5 separate regions of the Homo sapiens genome follow, and all the other regions are linked to region 3. The links are contacts of gene promoters, found by promoter capture Hi-C in human tissues and cell types (Jung and others, 2019). All regions are on one chromosome and are shown on one strand. The core of a region is centred on a gene start or on the middle of the fragment in contact, and the rest is flanking DNA. Distances in the headings are between cores, read along the strand shown. Region 1 overlaps CFAP70 (cilia and flagella associated protein 70). Region 2 has its middle 24 kb from the start of MYOZ1. Region 3 holds the start of MSS51 (MSS51 mitochondrial translational activator). Region 4 overlaps CFAP70 (cilia and flagella associated protein 70). Region 5 overlaps FAM149B1 (family with sequence similarity 149 member B1).

The links. Contacts are between HindIII fragments. The study calls those that stand out against the background at their distance.
Region 1: a contact is called between a fragment that was not itself captured here and the fragment with the promoter of MSS51 in region 3, in 2 of the 25 tissues and cell types used here (bladder and mesenchymal stem cells).
Region 2: a contact is called between a fragment that was not itself captured here and the fragment with the promoter of MSS51 in region 3, in 2 of the 25 tissues and cell types used here (bladder and hippocampus).
Region 4: a contact is called between a fragment that was not itself captured here and the fragment with the promoter of MSS51 in region 3, in 3 of the 25 tissues and cell types used here (IMR-90 fibroblasts, bladder and neural progenitor cells).
Region 5: a contact is called between a fragment that was not itself captured here and the fragment with the promoter of MSS51 in region 3, in 3 of the 25 tissues and cell types used here (liver, mesenchymal stem cells and spleen).

Annotation. Positions count from the first base shown.
Region 1 is chr10:73,274,163-73,276,862 of GRCh38, forward strand. CFAP70 (cilia and flagella associated protein 70) reads right to left here. Exons shown (of 28, transcript NM_001367801.1): 23 at 1,284-1,436; 24 at 271-432. It overlaps DNAJC9-AS1 (DNAJC9 and MRPS16 antisense RNA 1), which reads left to right. Exons shown (of 4, transcript NR_038373.1): 4 at 286-2,700. Among named protein-coding and RNA genes, the nearest start is that of MRPS16, 23 kb to the left of the region's middle. The HindIII fragment of the contact is 5,311 bases long and covers 1-2,700 here.
Region 2 is chr10:73,615,670-73,618,369 of GRCh38, forward strand. It overlaps a transcript of USP54 not described here. Among named protein-coding and RNA genes, the nearest start is that of MYOZ1, 24 kb to the right of the region's middle. The HindIII fragment of the contact is 5,257 bases long and covers 1-2,700 here.
Region 3 is chr10:73,432,234-73,434,933 of GRCh38, forward strand. It overlaps MSS51 (MSS51 mitochondrial translational activator), which reads right to left and starts at 1,328. Exons shown (of 7, transcript NM_001024593.2): 1 at 1,280-1,328. The HindIII fragment of the contact is 24,221 bases long and covers 1-2,700 here.
Region 4 is chr10:73,256,078-73,258,777 of GRCh38, forward strand. It overlaps CFAP70 (cilia and flagella associated protein 70), which reads right to left. Exons shown (of 28, transcript NM_001367801.1): 27 at 292-339. All of the region lies in intron 2 of DNAJC9-AS1 (DNAJC9 and MRPS16 antisense RNA 1), which reads left to right. Among named protein-coding and RNA genes, the nearest start is that of MRPS16, 4.8 kb to the left of the region's middle. The HindIII fragment of the contact is 4,219 bases long and covers 1-2,700 here.
Region 5 is chr10:73,207,098-73,209,797 of GRCh38, forward strand. FAM149B1 (family with sequence similarity 149 member B1) reads left to right here. Exons shown (of 14, transcript NM_173348.2): 6 at 1,522-1,689. Among named protein-coding and RNA genes, the nearest start is that of DNAJC9, 39 kb to the right of the region's middle. The HindIII fragment of the contact is 5,165 bases long and covers 1-2,700 here.

The DNA of each region.
Region 1 (2,700 bases), core at 31-2,530, 160 kb before region 3:
ACAATTTTAGCTAGCATAACATTTACTGAGTTCTTAAGAACTGTTTAGTAGCATAATGGTTAAAATCACAGACTCTCGTTTCAGCCTGCCTGAGTTTGAATGCTGCTTCCACTAATTACTGGTTGTCTGATGTTGGGCAAGTCACTTTACCTTTGGATGTAAAAGTGTCATTATTATATTACTAGTTTTAGTCCACACAGATAGATGTTAATGCTTGAATTACAATTAGTTCCCAGACCACGGGGTTATTCCCCATTCTCTACCCCTCACCTCTTTCTCTTCCAGATAGATGAGCCCCAGTCTCAGGAAGATGAAGTGCATCTCAGAAGCATCCACTACAAAGCTAATGGTTCGTTCATAGCATGCCTTGGCCTCAGAATGATTTCCACTCAGAAAATAGAGATGGCCCTTCAGGCCCCAGACATTGGGGTTCTGGGAAAGTGAAAAGCAAGTAGTATATGGGATAAGGTAGTATTTAAAAGTACCTTGATGATCTTTGTTTAACATTTAAATTTAGATAGATTGTCCATTTCCTTTCTCTTTTCTTTTTCAGATCAACCGTTTTCTTTTTCTAAGAGCACTCAGAAACATAACCATTTAATTGTACAAGGAGACATTTTTCTAGCTCTGCCCTCAGATTTCTTTCTTGCATTCTTCAAAGCCATTTTGGGTGTGGAGTAAATATTAAGAAAAACATTCAAGCATAACCCCAATACTGTTCACATGAGAAAATATAAGAAATCTAGAAAAATTGAAATAAACACTATCAGCTAAAGATATCCTTTTCTCTGCTCTTTGCAAAACTCATGATTACTTTATTATTATTATTTTTTGAGATGGAGTCTTGCACTGTCGCCCAGGCTGGAGAGTGCAATGGCTCAATCTCCGCTCACTGCAACCTCCGCCTCCCAGGTTCAGGCGAGTCTCCTGCCTCACCCTCCTGAGTAGCTGGGATTACAGGCACCTGCCACCACGCCCATCTAATTTTTTGTATTTTTAGTAGAGATGGGGTTTCACTATGTTGGCCAGGCTGGTCTTGAACTCCTGACCTCGTGATCTGCCTGCCTCGGCCTCCCAAAGTGCTGCGATTACAGTTGTGAGCCACCGCGCCCAGCCAACTCATGATTACTTAAGAAAAGCAAATGGAAGGGTATAGAGAGATGAGTTTACTGACAGCTGATGACCACCCTTCTGTTCACCAGAAATCTACGTGTGATATGGCATCACCACCTTTAAATAAAGCCCCTTCTCCAGACTCAAGAGGCTTTAGCAAAAGTCATTACCAGGTAGTCCATCTGGGCTGCTTGTTGAAGGTATTCCTCTGCCTTGGCAAAGTTCTTCTTAAGAATGTGTGTTTGGGCCAGCACCAAGTAATATTCACAGCTGGGGCCTCCTTGAGGGCATAACAGCTCATGTGCAAGCACTCTGTGCACATACTGCAAGGATAATCAGATTATAAGCAACATATAAATGGCTGCATTGCGTCTTTTTCGGTTGAAGGATTCTGTCTCTGATAATAAATAATACGAAATGTATTACAGAATGAAATAATTATCCTCAACTTCAAAAGGTAAAGGGTGAATTACAAACATTCTGCACTTCATAGTTCCATTACCAGCTATTCACCTAGTCACCAAATGAAGACATTACCAAGTGAATAACTTGCAATATTGTACAATTCTGGTCTTGCTGGTCATCATACTAGGTGAGTGTTAGACTGCATGTATTATGCAGCAGACAAAGGCACATCATCAACCACCCCATTTACAAAGGAGGTAACATTTTCAGGCAGCTGACATTGTAAGGAAACTTAAGTGAGGTAAAACTGCCTTTCTAACAATCTAGACTTGAAATCTTAGAAACATAAATGTCTGTTTTGGATCCACCTCCAAACATTGGTTATGTTTACCAGTTTTGTAGTTTGGGTCAATTTTTGTATTTTGTTTTTTTTTTTTTCTTTTTTTAGAGACAGGGTCTTACTCTGTCACCCAGGGCTGCTTACTGCAGCCTTCTGGCCTCAAGCAATCCTCCTGCCTTGGCTTCCCAAAAGTGCTGGAATTATAGGGGTGAGCCCCATGCCTGGCCAAATCTTTGCTTTTTACACTTTATAAGACCTACAAAATTAACAAAGTTAGATATACTTCTTAAGTCGAGGGTAAATCCTTCTTTTCATCTCCCACTGTTCCCATCTCAGCCTATAATGTAGAAAATTCTACATTATACTTACACCTTTTTAGGAGAATACTAGAGGGAACAGCTGCAGCTATTTTTTCCACCTGCCTTCTGGGTCTCTGACCTGGGGGAGCTAATGACTTATTTAGCTGTGGAAGAAGAGAGTCTGTTTCTATTTTGCGGAGGGTTAATGTGTTAAAGCCTCCTGCTTAATGTGGCTCAATCCCACCCAGTTAATAATTCTTGCCCTTTCTTGAGCTTGCCTGCCCTTGAGTAGGGCATGCACTTGGCAGGATCAAAACCAAACACTCCTGGCTCCTGAGTCTTGATCTCTCCTACTGCTTGCTCATGAATATGCTTCTTTCTTCCCATGTAATAGGCAGACTTCCTAGAATGCTCTTCTTCTCTGAGAGGAGGCTTCAATTCTTCAGCTGCTCTACCTGTGACTGCATGGGTAAGTCAAATGTGGGGCTAGTTATGTTGTCCAGCCAAGTTTTACCAATAAAAATAAGCTAATATTTTTATTCC
Region 2 (2,700 bases), core at 180-2,679, 180 kb after region 3:
CAGCACTCTGCGAAGCTGAGGCAGGCAGATCGCTTGAGGTCAGGAATTCTAGAATAGCCTGGGCAACATAGCAAAACCCTTTTTCTATAAAAAATACAAAAATTAGCTGGTCATGATGGCTCACACTGTGGTCCCAGCTACTCGGGAGGTTGAGGTGGGACGATCACCTGAGCTTGGGAAATTGAGGCTGTAGTGAGCGAAATCACTCCAGCCTGGGCAACGAAGAGATCAGTCTCAAAAAAAAAAAAAAAAAAAGGCCCAGCACAGTGGCTCACACCTGTAATCCCAGCACTTTGGGAGGCCAAGGTGAGAGGATTACTTGAGGCCAGGAGTTCAAGACCAGCCTGGCCAACATGGCAAAACTCGTCTCTACTAAAAATACAGAAATTACTTAAGCCAGGCAAGGTGGCTCACGCCTGTAATCTTTGGGAGGCCGAGGTGGGCAGATCACTTGAGATCAGGAGTTCAAGACTAGCCTGGCGAACATGGTGAAACCCTGTCTCTTCTAAAAATACAAAATTAGCCAGGGATGGTGGCAAGTGCCTGTAATGCTAGCTACTTGGGAGGCTGAGGCAGGAGAACTGCTTGAGCCCAGGAGGCAGAGGCTGCAGTGAGCCGAGATTGCGCCACTGCACTCCAGCCTAGGCGACAGCAAGACTCCATCTCAAAAAAAAAAAAAAAAAAAAAAAAAAATCAAGTTCCATTCATGTATCCTCAGCAAACTAACACAGGAACAGAAAACCAAATGCCACGTTTTCACTTATAAGTGGCAGCTGAACAATGAAAACACATGGACACAGGGAGGGGAACAACACACACTAGGGCCTGTGCGGGGGTGGGAAGAGCATCAGGATAAACAGCTAATGTATGCAGGGCTTAATACCTAGGTGATGAGTTAATAGGTACAGCAAACCACCATGGCACACATTTATGTAACACGCCTGCACATCCTGCATGTGTATCCAGGAACTTAAAATTAAATTAAATTCTAAAAAAAATACAAAAATTATCTGGGCGTGGTGGCAGGTGCCTGTAATCTTGCCTCCTCAGGAGGCTGAGGCACAAGAACCATTTAAACCTGGGAGGTGGAGACTACAGTGAGCTGAGCTCACACCACTGCACTTCAACCTTAACAACAGAGAGAGACTCTGTCTCAAAAACAAAACAAAACAAAACAAAACTTAAAAAAATGTTTTCAGAGAATAAATGTAGCTTTGATACAAAAGAAAAACTAAAATGGGATGGGAGGGGTAGAATGAGAAGAAAAAAGCCCAGTTACAAAATAAGCAAAGAATAAGCAATTCCACTGAAAGAAATACAGCCAATAAAGAAATAAAAAGATGTTAGGCTGGGCACAGTGGCTCACACCTGTAATCCCAGCACTTTGGGAGGCCAAGGCGGGCAGATCACCTAAGGTCGGGAGTTCGAGACCAGCCTGACCAACACGGAGAAACCCGTCTCTACTAAAAATACAAAATTAGCTGGGCATGGTGGCACATGCCTGTAATCCCAGCTACTCAGGTGGCTGAGGCAGGAGAATCGCTTGAAACCAGGAGGTGGAGGTTGCGGTGAGCTGAGATCGCACCATTGCACTGCAGCCTGGGCAACAAGAGCGAAACCCTGTCTCAAAAAAAAAAAATTAGCCAGGCGGTGGCGCATGCCTGTAATCCCAGTTACGTGGGAGGCTGAGGTGGGAGAATCACTTGAACCCAGGAGGCGGAGGTTGCAGTGGGCTGAGATCATGCCATTGCACTCCAGCCTGGGCAACAGAGAGAGACTCTGTCTAAAAATAATAATAATAAAAATAAAAAATAATAATAAATATGGAAAATATTCAACTTCATCTCAAATAAATGGAAATTTAAAATGAGATCACTTGGCCAGGTGCAGTGGCTCATACGTGTAATCCCAGCACTTTGGAGGGCTGAGGTGGAAAAATTCCTTGAGTTCAGGAGTTCAAGATCAGCCTGGGCAATATAGTGAGACCTCATCTCTTCAAAAAAATTAAAAATTAGACTTTCTCTTCCTGGTTCCTAGCAGAGTCAGGAAAAGCTTTGTTGAGAGGGCGGGGTGAAAAAAACTTTTTTAAAATTAGCTGGGCATGGTGGTGCACATCTGTAGTTCCAGCTACTTGGGAGGCTGAGGTGAGAGGATTGTTTGAGTCCAGGAGGCAAAAGCTGCAGTAAGCCGTGATTGCACTGCACTCCAGCCTAGGCAACAAAGACCCTGTCTTAAGAAATAAAAATAAAAATAAAAATAAAAATAAGGCAGTGGTTCACACCTGTAATCTCAGCATTCTGGGAGTGCAAGGTTGACGGATCATCTGAGGTCAGGAGTTCGAGACCAGCCTGGCCGACATGGTGAAACCCCATCTCTACTAAAAATACAAAAATTAGCCGAGCTTGGTGGCAGGTGCCTGTAATCCCAGCTACTCGAGAGGCTGAGGCAGGAAAATTGCTTGAACCCGGGAGGCGGAGGTTGCAGTGAACCGAGATTGCGCCACTGCACTCCAGCCTGGGTGACACAGCAAGACTCCATCTCAAAACATTAATAAATAAAAATAAATAAAATGAGATCACTTGTCTTCTCTTTTTAGCAGCAGGGTCTCACTCTCACTCTGACGTGTAGTCAGACTGAGGCTGGAGTGTAGTGGCATGATTTAGCTGACTGCAACCTCAAACACCTGGGCTCAAGGGATCT
Region 3 (2,700 bases), core at 78-2,577:
TCACCATGTTGGTCAGGCTGGTCTCGAACTCCTGACCTCGTGATCCACCCACCTCGACCTCCCAAAGTGCTGGGATTACAGGCATGAGCCACGGCGCCCGGCCAAGACACCACTTTCTTAAACCTTGAAAGAATGACTTTTTTTTTTTTAAATAGGTATGGAAGGAAAGTGTGATTTGAGACAACTCTAGGGTCTTAAATCCCAGAATTTATAATAGATATCTCCCTGAAGTTAAAACATAAGCCTTTTTGCTGCAATGGAAGCAAGCCACTTAAGGTCAGAAAGGTACTGCTTTACTTTTCCGCATTTCCAAGGTGAGGTCTTCCTCTAAAGGAAGATTAGCTCTTGGCAATCTGGGAGTTGGCTGAACTGGTCAGAAAGCAAAAGGATCACACAGTTTGAGGAAGAGGAGTGGTGGTAAAAATCCCTAATGTCACAGTCTCCTCTGTGTCTAGAGCACAATGTTCATGATACAAATGAGTTAGCTTTCTGGCAGAAAAGAAAGAAGGTGGGTGAGAAGCCAGGTCTTTGATCTGCATCTATATACATCATCAGGTTCATGTTTGAGTTTATATACCCCAGGCCCAGACACAGCTTCCCTGGTTCTAAATCTCCTGTAAAGAGCCCCAGGCTACTCCCTGTTCACAGGTTATAAACTGAGAGAAACAAAGGAAAAAACAGGGGACTCACAGGAGAAGCTGGAAAGAATTGCAGTAAGCTCTTTGAACTTTCCAGAGTCTAGAATGCTCTCCACTTAGAAAGGGAATCCCTTTCATTTTTTTCTAGCCATCCCCAGTGACTTAGGCTCTAATTTAGTCCCAGTATAAGAGAGAGAACACCAACACCAAGAACTGGAGAGGAGACATGATCTTGATTGCCTAGAAAAACTTTTATCCTTCATGTCCAAATTCAAGACAAAATATTAATCTATTCCTAGACCTAGGTTTCCCATCTTCTTCTTTACCACCAAGAGTCCCAAGTTTCACCTAAACTACAGTCATATTTTCACTATCTCCAGATAAGGAGTGCTCATCTAATTTTCTGTAAGTCACCAAAAAATGCAAAACGTCTTTGGAGAGGTAGGGAGAAGGAAGACTGAAACTGGTCATTGGAGATCCTTATAAGGGGGTAGGAAAAGAGAAGGAGAAATACATTAAGGACACTGTAATTATGGCCACATTCAGCTGTTTAATCAGTGATTAACACTGCCTGGGGTGATAAATACTTTACTCAATTATAAACTAAGCAAGCAGACAGGTTGACGGAAAAAAAAACTTACCCTGCTAAGTCCTCAGCTTCCTTCCTTCTCTCTTTCCTCCAAGTGAAATGAGTGCTTGATCTCTTCAGATCTAGGTTGTGGCTTACTTGCAGCTGTCCCTTCATATCACTTTCCTTTGCAAACTGCTGAAATGCTGAGTCTCAGTGATTAAGTGTGCCCTGCCAACCAGACAGACAAGGCTGAATTCTCCCTAATGAGGCAAAGAGGGATCTGTCCCCCTGCCTGAGGGCTTCTCTCTAACCTTTGTTCTCTGCCAAGGGGGCTCAGGACTGTCAACACTCCCAAGTGTTAGCCAAGTAAAGGCCAGGCAGGCTGACAAAAAATGAAACCTGCTGCTTCCTAGACTTCTCTCACTCAAGGCAATATTTCTGTTCTCAGTTTACAGCTTCAGAAGAAAACCCTTTGGATTAGTGCAGAAGTCAATATTTGATTGGAAAGGGTAAGCACCTTTCCAACCAAGTGGGAGGAACCAGAGGACCCTCTGGAGTTCTGTTTGTTGATCTAGACACAGGATGAGTTCCCCCAGGCCTGGTGTCCTTTTTCAGCATAACAAACATTGTTCAAACAAAACTCAACAATGTCCAATCTTGGATTAAGTAGAAGGGAGAAAATAAATGGCCATTTAATGGTACAGAATGAAATCAGTTGTAGGGGAAACATGCAGAATTAACTTGTAAAATTCACTTTCCCTGAAAGAAGGGTAAGATAACTCTCTGAGTGAGAGAGTCATCAGGAGCACTTTACCTGTATTAAGAGAGGAATAAATGCTTCTGGGATATTAAACAAAACCAAAATACTAGTTAATGACTAAAAATACATACTATTTCTAGGAAAAGAAAATAGAAAAGAATCAGCTCAACCATTCTCTTATCCTCCTTGTAATTGCAGCTGATCCAGGAAATTCAATTCCACAGTCCTAGCTTCTTTCTACTTACAGCTAGCCTATCTGAAGTTGTTAGGGCAGTGGTCCTAAAAGACTGCAAGATCTTTCTTACCCTCAAAAAATTTTTTTAAAATTTTTAAATAAAAAAGTTCTGACTTTCTGCTTATATCTGACCCCAGCTCTCACTTACCTGCTTCTTTGAACATCATCAAACTGGGGAACAGAATCACTCGCAATGAGGTCCCGGAATGTGGCAAATCAAATCCACACAGGAACCCCAAACTGTAAAAAGTACAAACTACATGCAGGGAAGGTGGAAGAAAAGTGTTAAGGATTCAACCAAACACTGCATAACATTATGTAGAATAGCTGTGGATAAAGGAAAATCAGTTGCAATAGGCAAAAACCCTAAATAAAATAGGGGTAATTCACTTTGTGCAAAAGTTTCAGGCCAACTTCAAATTTAACAGGCTTCAAAATTTATCTGAGAACCTCAAATGTTTTGAGTTCTGTTAATAATGGCTGAACTGCAGAAGAT
Region 4 (2,700 bases), core at 61-2,560, 180 kb before region 3:
CACAGTAAGTTAATGGCAAAACCAGAATCATAATTCAGGTTGACTGACTCCCAGGCTATCTTTCTATTAACTATTATATATTCTCTCTAAAGAGCTGGAAGAAAGATCACCTATGGTAATATGTAGGTTGTTATTACAAACCCAGCAGCCCCACGATAATGGCAAAGATGGTAAGAAAAGCCTCTAGAAAAATATTCACATTATGAAAGTCCTGAATTAAGCCAGTACCTCCCTCCTAATTTCCCACCCTTAACATGGGGCAGGCAAATGACAGAGGCATCTGTGTCATACCTTGATCATGTACTTGTAGGCCTGCTCAGCTTCTAATTGCCGTCCAACCTGAAAAAAGTGCAGCAGTTGGTGATGATGACAGGTCATAAACATTATGGTAAGGAAAATACATTGCCTCAGCTAAGGCAGAGGCACCTACACCTAAGGCAGAGGCTTCTACACCTTCCAGTTAAGAACTTCTGAATTGAGAGGAAAAACTAGCAAATGAAAGGTGGTAGGGAGAAAAAGGTTTTTTTTTTAAAAAATTCCTCCTGGCCAGGCGTGGTGGCTCATGCCCATAATCCCAGCACTTTGGGAGACCGAGGTGGGTGGATCACAAGGTCAGGAGATCGAGATCATCCTGGCTAACACGGTGAAACCCCGTCTCTAATAAAAATACACAAAATTAGCCGGGTGTGGTGGCATGCGCCTGTAGTCCCAGCTACTAGGGGAGCTGAGGCAGGAGAATCGCTTGAACCCAGGAGGCAGAGGTTGCAGTGAGCCGACATCATGCCACTGCACTCCATCCTGGGCAACAGAGTGAGACTCCATCTCAAAAAAAAAAAAAAAAAAAAAAAGGAAAAAAAATTCCTCCTTCCTTTTGAAAAGCTTAAAGATAACTTGGCCTCTCACCTTTTTGAAAGCACCATGAGTCATTTGTTCCTCTTAGGACTGAAGCCATTCTGTTAATAATAATTAACACTTACCACTCCGTACTATGTGATTTACATTGTTTTCATTATTGATGTTGTTTTTAGTGCTTTATTTAAGTTCATTCTTAATCCTCAAGACCTAGGAGATAACTACTGTTATTTATTATTCCCAATTTACAGAGAGGATAAGTAACTTGCCAGGGTTATGAAGCTAGTAAGTAGAGGAGCCAGGTTTAAAACAATGCAGTTTGACTCCAGAGTCCAAGTTTTTAACTACTACATTACTCTGTCTCTAGGAATTAGAAAAAGTAGGTATCAGAATTACTTCTATGAAGATCTGGATATGAGATAAGAACATTAACTACTCCCCACCAGTTTATATTATTCTTTGCATGAAGCACTCCTCCAGAAGTTAAATGAGATAATATGAATCCACTATTCTACTTCTTGAGTTTGCTACATAGTTACTTAGAGTATGCAAAGTCACTTGGTAAAGCTTAAATATGTAAGAACCACAGAATATTCGTGTCTGAAGGGGACCTGGGGAATATCTAGTCCAATTTTCTGATTAATGCTAGTCCATATGAAAGTTTTACTGGTTCACAAAACTTTCACACCCTAAACCCTTACTTCCTCCAAATCTACACTTTGAAATGTTCCCAACTGAAGTTCACTGAATTGCCAGCAGCATTTTCCAGCACACCTGCCTTTCCTACCACTATTACTTTGTTTCCCTCCTGCCACAGGGAGGCAGAGGCCCAAATGATGTCAGGATCCAGAATAGCCAAAACAATTTTGAAAAATAATTTTTCTGCTATCATGAACATTGCTGCAGTAAACATCCTTGTACATTTCTTCTTCTTCTCCTTTTCCTTCTTTTTTTTTTTTTTTTTTTGAGACGGAGTCTTGCTCTGTCACCCAGGCTGGAGTGCAATGGCACGATCTCAGCACTCTCACAGTCTCAGCACTGCAACCTCCACCCCCTGGGTTCAAGCGATTCTCCTGCCTCAGCCTCCTGAGTAGCTAGGATTACAGATGTTGTATGTGTCTTCTTGTATTTTTCTTAGGATTATATCTAGATATGACATTGCCAAATTGTAGATATGAATGTAACTAAATAATGCCACATTGTACTTAAAAGTGGTTATGCCAATTTACATCCAATTACAATTATGAGAGTCTTCATCAGTGCTTGTTGTGGGAAGTCAGGGACACTGAACGGAGGGACCGGCTGAAGCCATGGCAGAAGAACATAAATTGTGAAGATTTCTTGGACATTTATTAGTTCCCCAAATTAATACTTTTATAATTTCTTATGCCTGTCTTTACTGCAATCTCTGAACATAAATTGTGAAGATTTCATGGACATTTATCACTTCCCCAATCAATACTCTTATAATTTCCTATGCCTGTCTTTACTTTAATCTCTTAATCCCATCATCTTTGTAAACTGAGGATGTATGTTGCCTCAGGATCCTGTGATGATTACGTTATCTGCACAAATTGTTTGTAGAGCACGTGTGTTTGAACAATATGAAATCTGGGCATCCAAAAGGAACAGGATGGCTGTGATTTTCAGGGAACAAGGGAAATAACTATTGGGCCTGACTGCCTGCAGGGCCGGACAGAACAGAGTCACATTTCTCTTCTTACAAAAGCGAATAGGAGAAATATCGCTGAATTCTTTTTCTCAGCAAGGAACAGCCCTGAGAAAGAGAATGCATTCCCAGGGGTAGGTCTCTAAAATGGCCGCTCTGGGAGTGTCTCTCTCTTATAT
Region 5 (2,700 bases), core at 133-2,632, 230 kb before region 3:
GGTGGAGTCCTCACAGAGAATCTCTATTGGGCAGTGCAGAGAAGAAATAGGGGGTTGGAGGCCCCACACACAATTCCCACTGGGGCACTGCCTAGTGGAGCTGTGGGAAGGGGGTCACCATCTTCCAGACCCCAGAATGATAGATTCACCTTGCACCCTGTACCTAGAAAGCTGCAGGCATTCAGGCCAGGTGCAGTGGCTCATGCCTGTAATCCCAGCACTTTGGGAGGCCAAGATGGGCAGATCACTAGAGACCAGGAGTTCGAGACCAGCCTGGCCAACATGGTGAAACCCCATCTCTACTAAAAATACAAAAATTAGCTGAGTGTAGTGGTGCTCGCCTGTAATCCCAGCTATTCAGGAGGCTGAGGCAGGAGAACTGCTTGAACCCGGGAGGCAGAGGTTGCAGTGGGCCGAGACCCCACCACTACACTCCAGCCTGGGCGACAGAACGAGACTCTGTCTCTCAAAAAAGAAAAAAAAGAAAAAAAGAAAAAAGAAAGCTGCAGGCATTCAACTCCACCCATGAGAGCAACCTTGGGAGCTGAACCCTGCAAAGCCACAGGGGTAGAGCTGCCCAGGGTCTTGGAAGCCTACCGCTTGCACCTTGTCATGGGACATCAAGGGGTTCTAAGAGTTAATGACTCCCCTACTGGGTTTTGAACTTGCATGGGATCTGTAGCCCCTCTCTTTTGGAACAGAAATGTTTATCTAACGCCTATACTCCCATTGTATCTTGGAAGTAAATAACTTGTTTTTGATTTACAGGCTCATAGCTGGAAGGGATGTGCCTTGTCTCAGAGGAGACGTGGGACTTTGGACTTTTGAATTAACACTGGAATGAGTCAAGACTTTTGAGACTTTTTGGAAACCATAATTGTATTTTGCAATGTGAGAAGGATATGAGATTTGGGAGGAGCCAAGGGCAGGATGCCCAAATCTCATGCTGAATTGTAATCCCCAATGCTAGAGGTGGGGCCTGGTGGGAGGTGTTTGGGTCATGGGGGAGGATCCCTTATGGCTTTGTACTGTCTTTGCGATAGTGAGTTCCCATGACATCTGGTCATTTAAAAGTGTGTGGCACCTCTCTTGCTCCTGCTCCCACTTAACATTCCCCCATGAGTAAAAGCTTTGTAAGTCCTCTGCAGAAGCAGATGCCAGCACTATGCTTCTACAGCCTCCAGAACTGTGAGCCTATTAAATCTCTTTTCTTATAAATTACGTGGTCTCAGATATTTCTTTATAGCAAGGCAAGGATGACCTAATACATAGCTATAGCTGTTTGCATCTGAAAAGACAGCAAGCAGTACCAGATAGTCCATAGTACATGTAGGCAGAATAGTTCTGTGACCAGAATTTAATCTTCCTGTTCTGAGAAATGGTAGGTTATTGAGGCTTAGAATAGTCCACGAAGGTATTGCCAGGGCAAGGGGAGTTTGAGCCAAAACTCATGTAACTGTGTTGCCATAAGAACTGTTTATGTTTACATAATTAATATTTACTTCTTTTTTCCACTCCAAGATTTGGTATAAGGGGAAAGAAGTTACATTTTTCATCTTCTTATGCTCATAAAGCATCTTCCATTGCCAAATCCTCCAGCTTTTGTTCTATGGAAAGAGATGAGGAAGACTCTATAATCGTCTCAGAAGGAATAATTGAGGAATACCTAGCATTCGATCACATAGATATGTGAGTATTATGCCTTTTAAGCTTTTTACTCCCCTCTTATTTTGTGTATTAATACCTATTTTTTCTAAATGATGCTACCAATGTATATTATTAAATATATGCCAGTTTCTGTTATTTATTTTATGTTATTTCTCAGGTATCCAGAATTTATGTTCTTATTGCCTCCATGTACTAGACTTCCTTGTGTATTTTATAACTTCACACATCATTTGCCTGTTCCTGAGATTAGAGATTTTAAAATAAGTTTATTTTTTCCCCACATAGTTTGATTTTACCCTTTTGCAAATTACCACCAGTGGGAACTTTGAAACCTTTTAAAAGAGCAGTTGAAGAGATATGGACTTTGTTTACATAAATTCTGTTTGAAAAATGTATATACAGGCTGGGCGCGGTGGCTCACACTTGTAATCCCAGCACATTGGGAGGCCGAGGCAGGCAGATCACTTTGGGTCAGGAGTTTGAGACTAGCCTGGCCAACATGGTGAAACCCCATCTCTACTAAAAATACAAAATTAGCTGGGCATGGTGATGCGTGCCTCTAATGTCAGCTACTTGGGAGGCTGAGGCCAGAGAATCGCTTGAACCCGGGAGGCGGAGGTTGCAGTGAGCCGAGATCACGCCACTGCATACCAGCCTGGGCAACAGAGCAAGACTCCATCTCCAAAAACAAAACAAAACAAAAAAGAAAAGAAAAAGGTATAAACAGTTTGTTTAAAACCTTATGGTTGGCACAGATTTTATAATTAATAATGTCTATTTATATCTATTCTAACTATATTCTAACAGTAGACCTATCACATAGATATGATTTATCTTCTTTACTGGATAGGTGAGAATCAGAGTAGTTAATGATTTGTCTCAAGTAAAGCTAAAACCAAAACCTTATTCATCTGATTCTCAATCCAGTCTTCTCTTCACTATTCCTTGCTACCTTTCTGTGACATTAACCTGTTAAACTATTCCTCTAAGCCTTTAAAAGTTCCAGATTTGATAGTCACAGCAGCATATTTG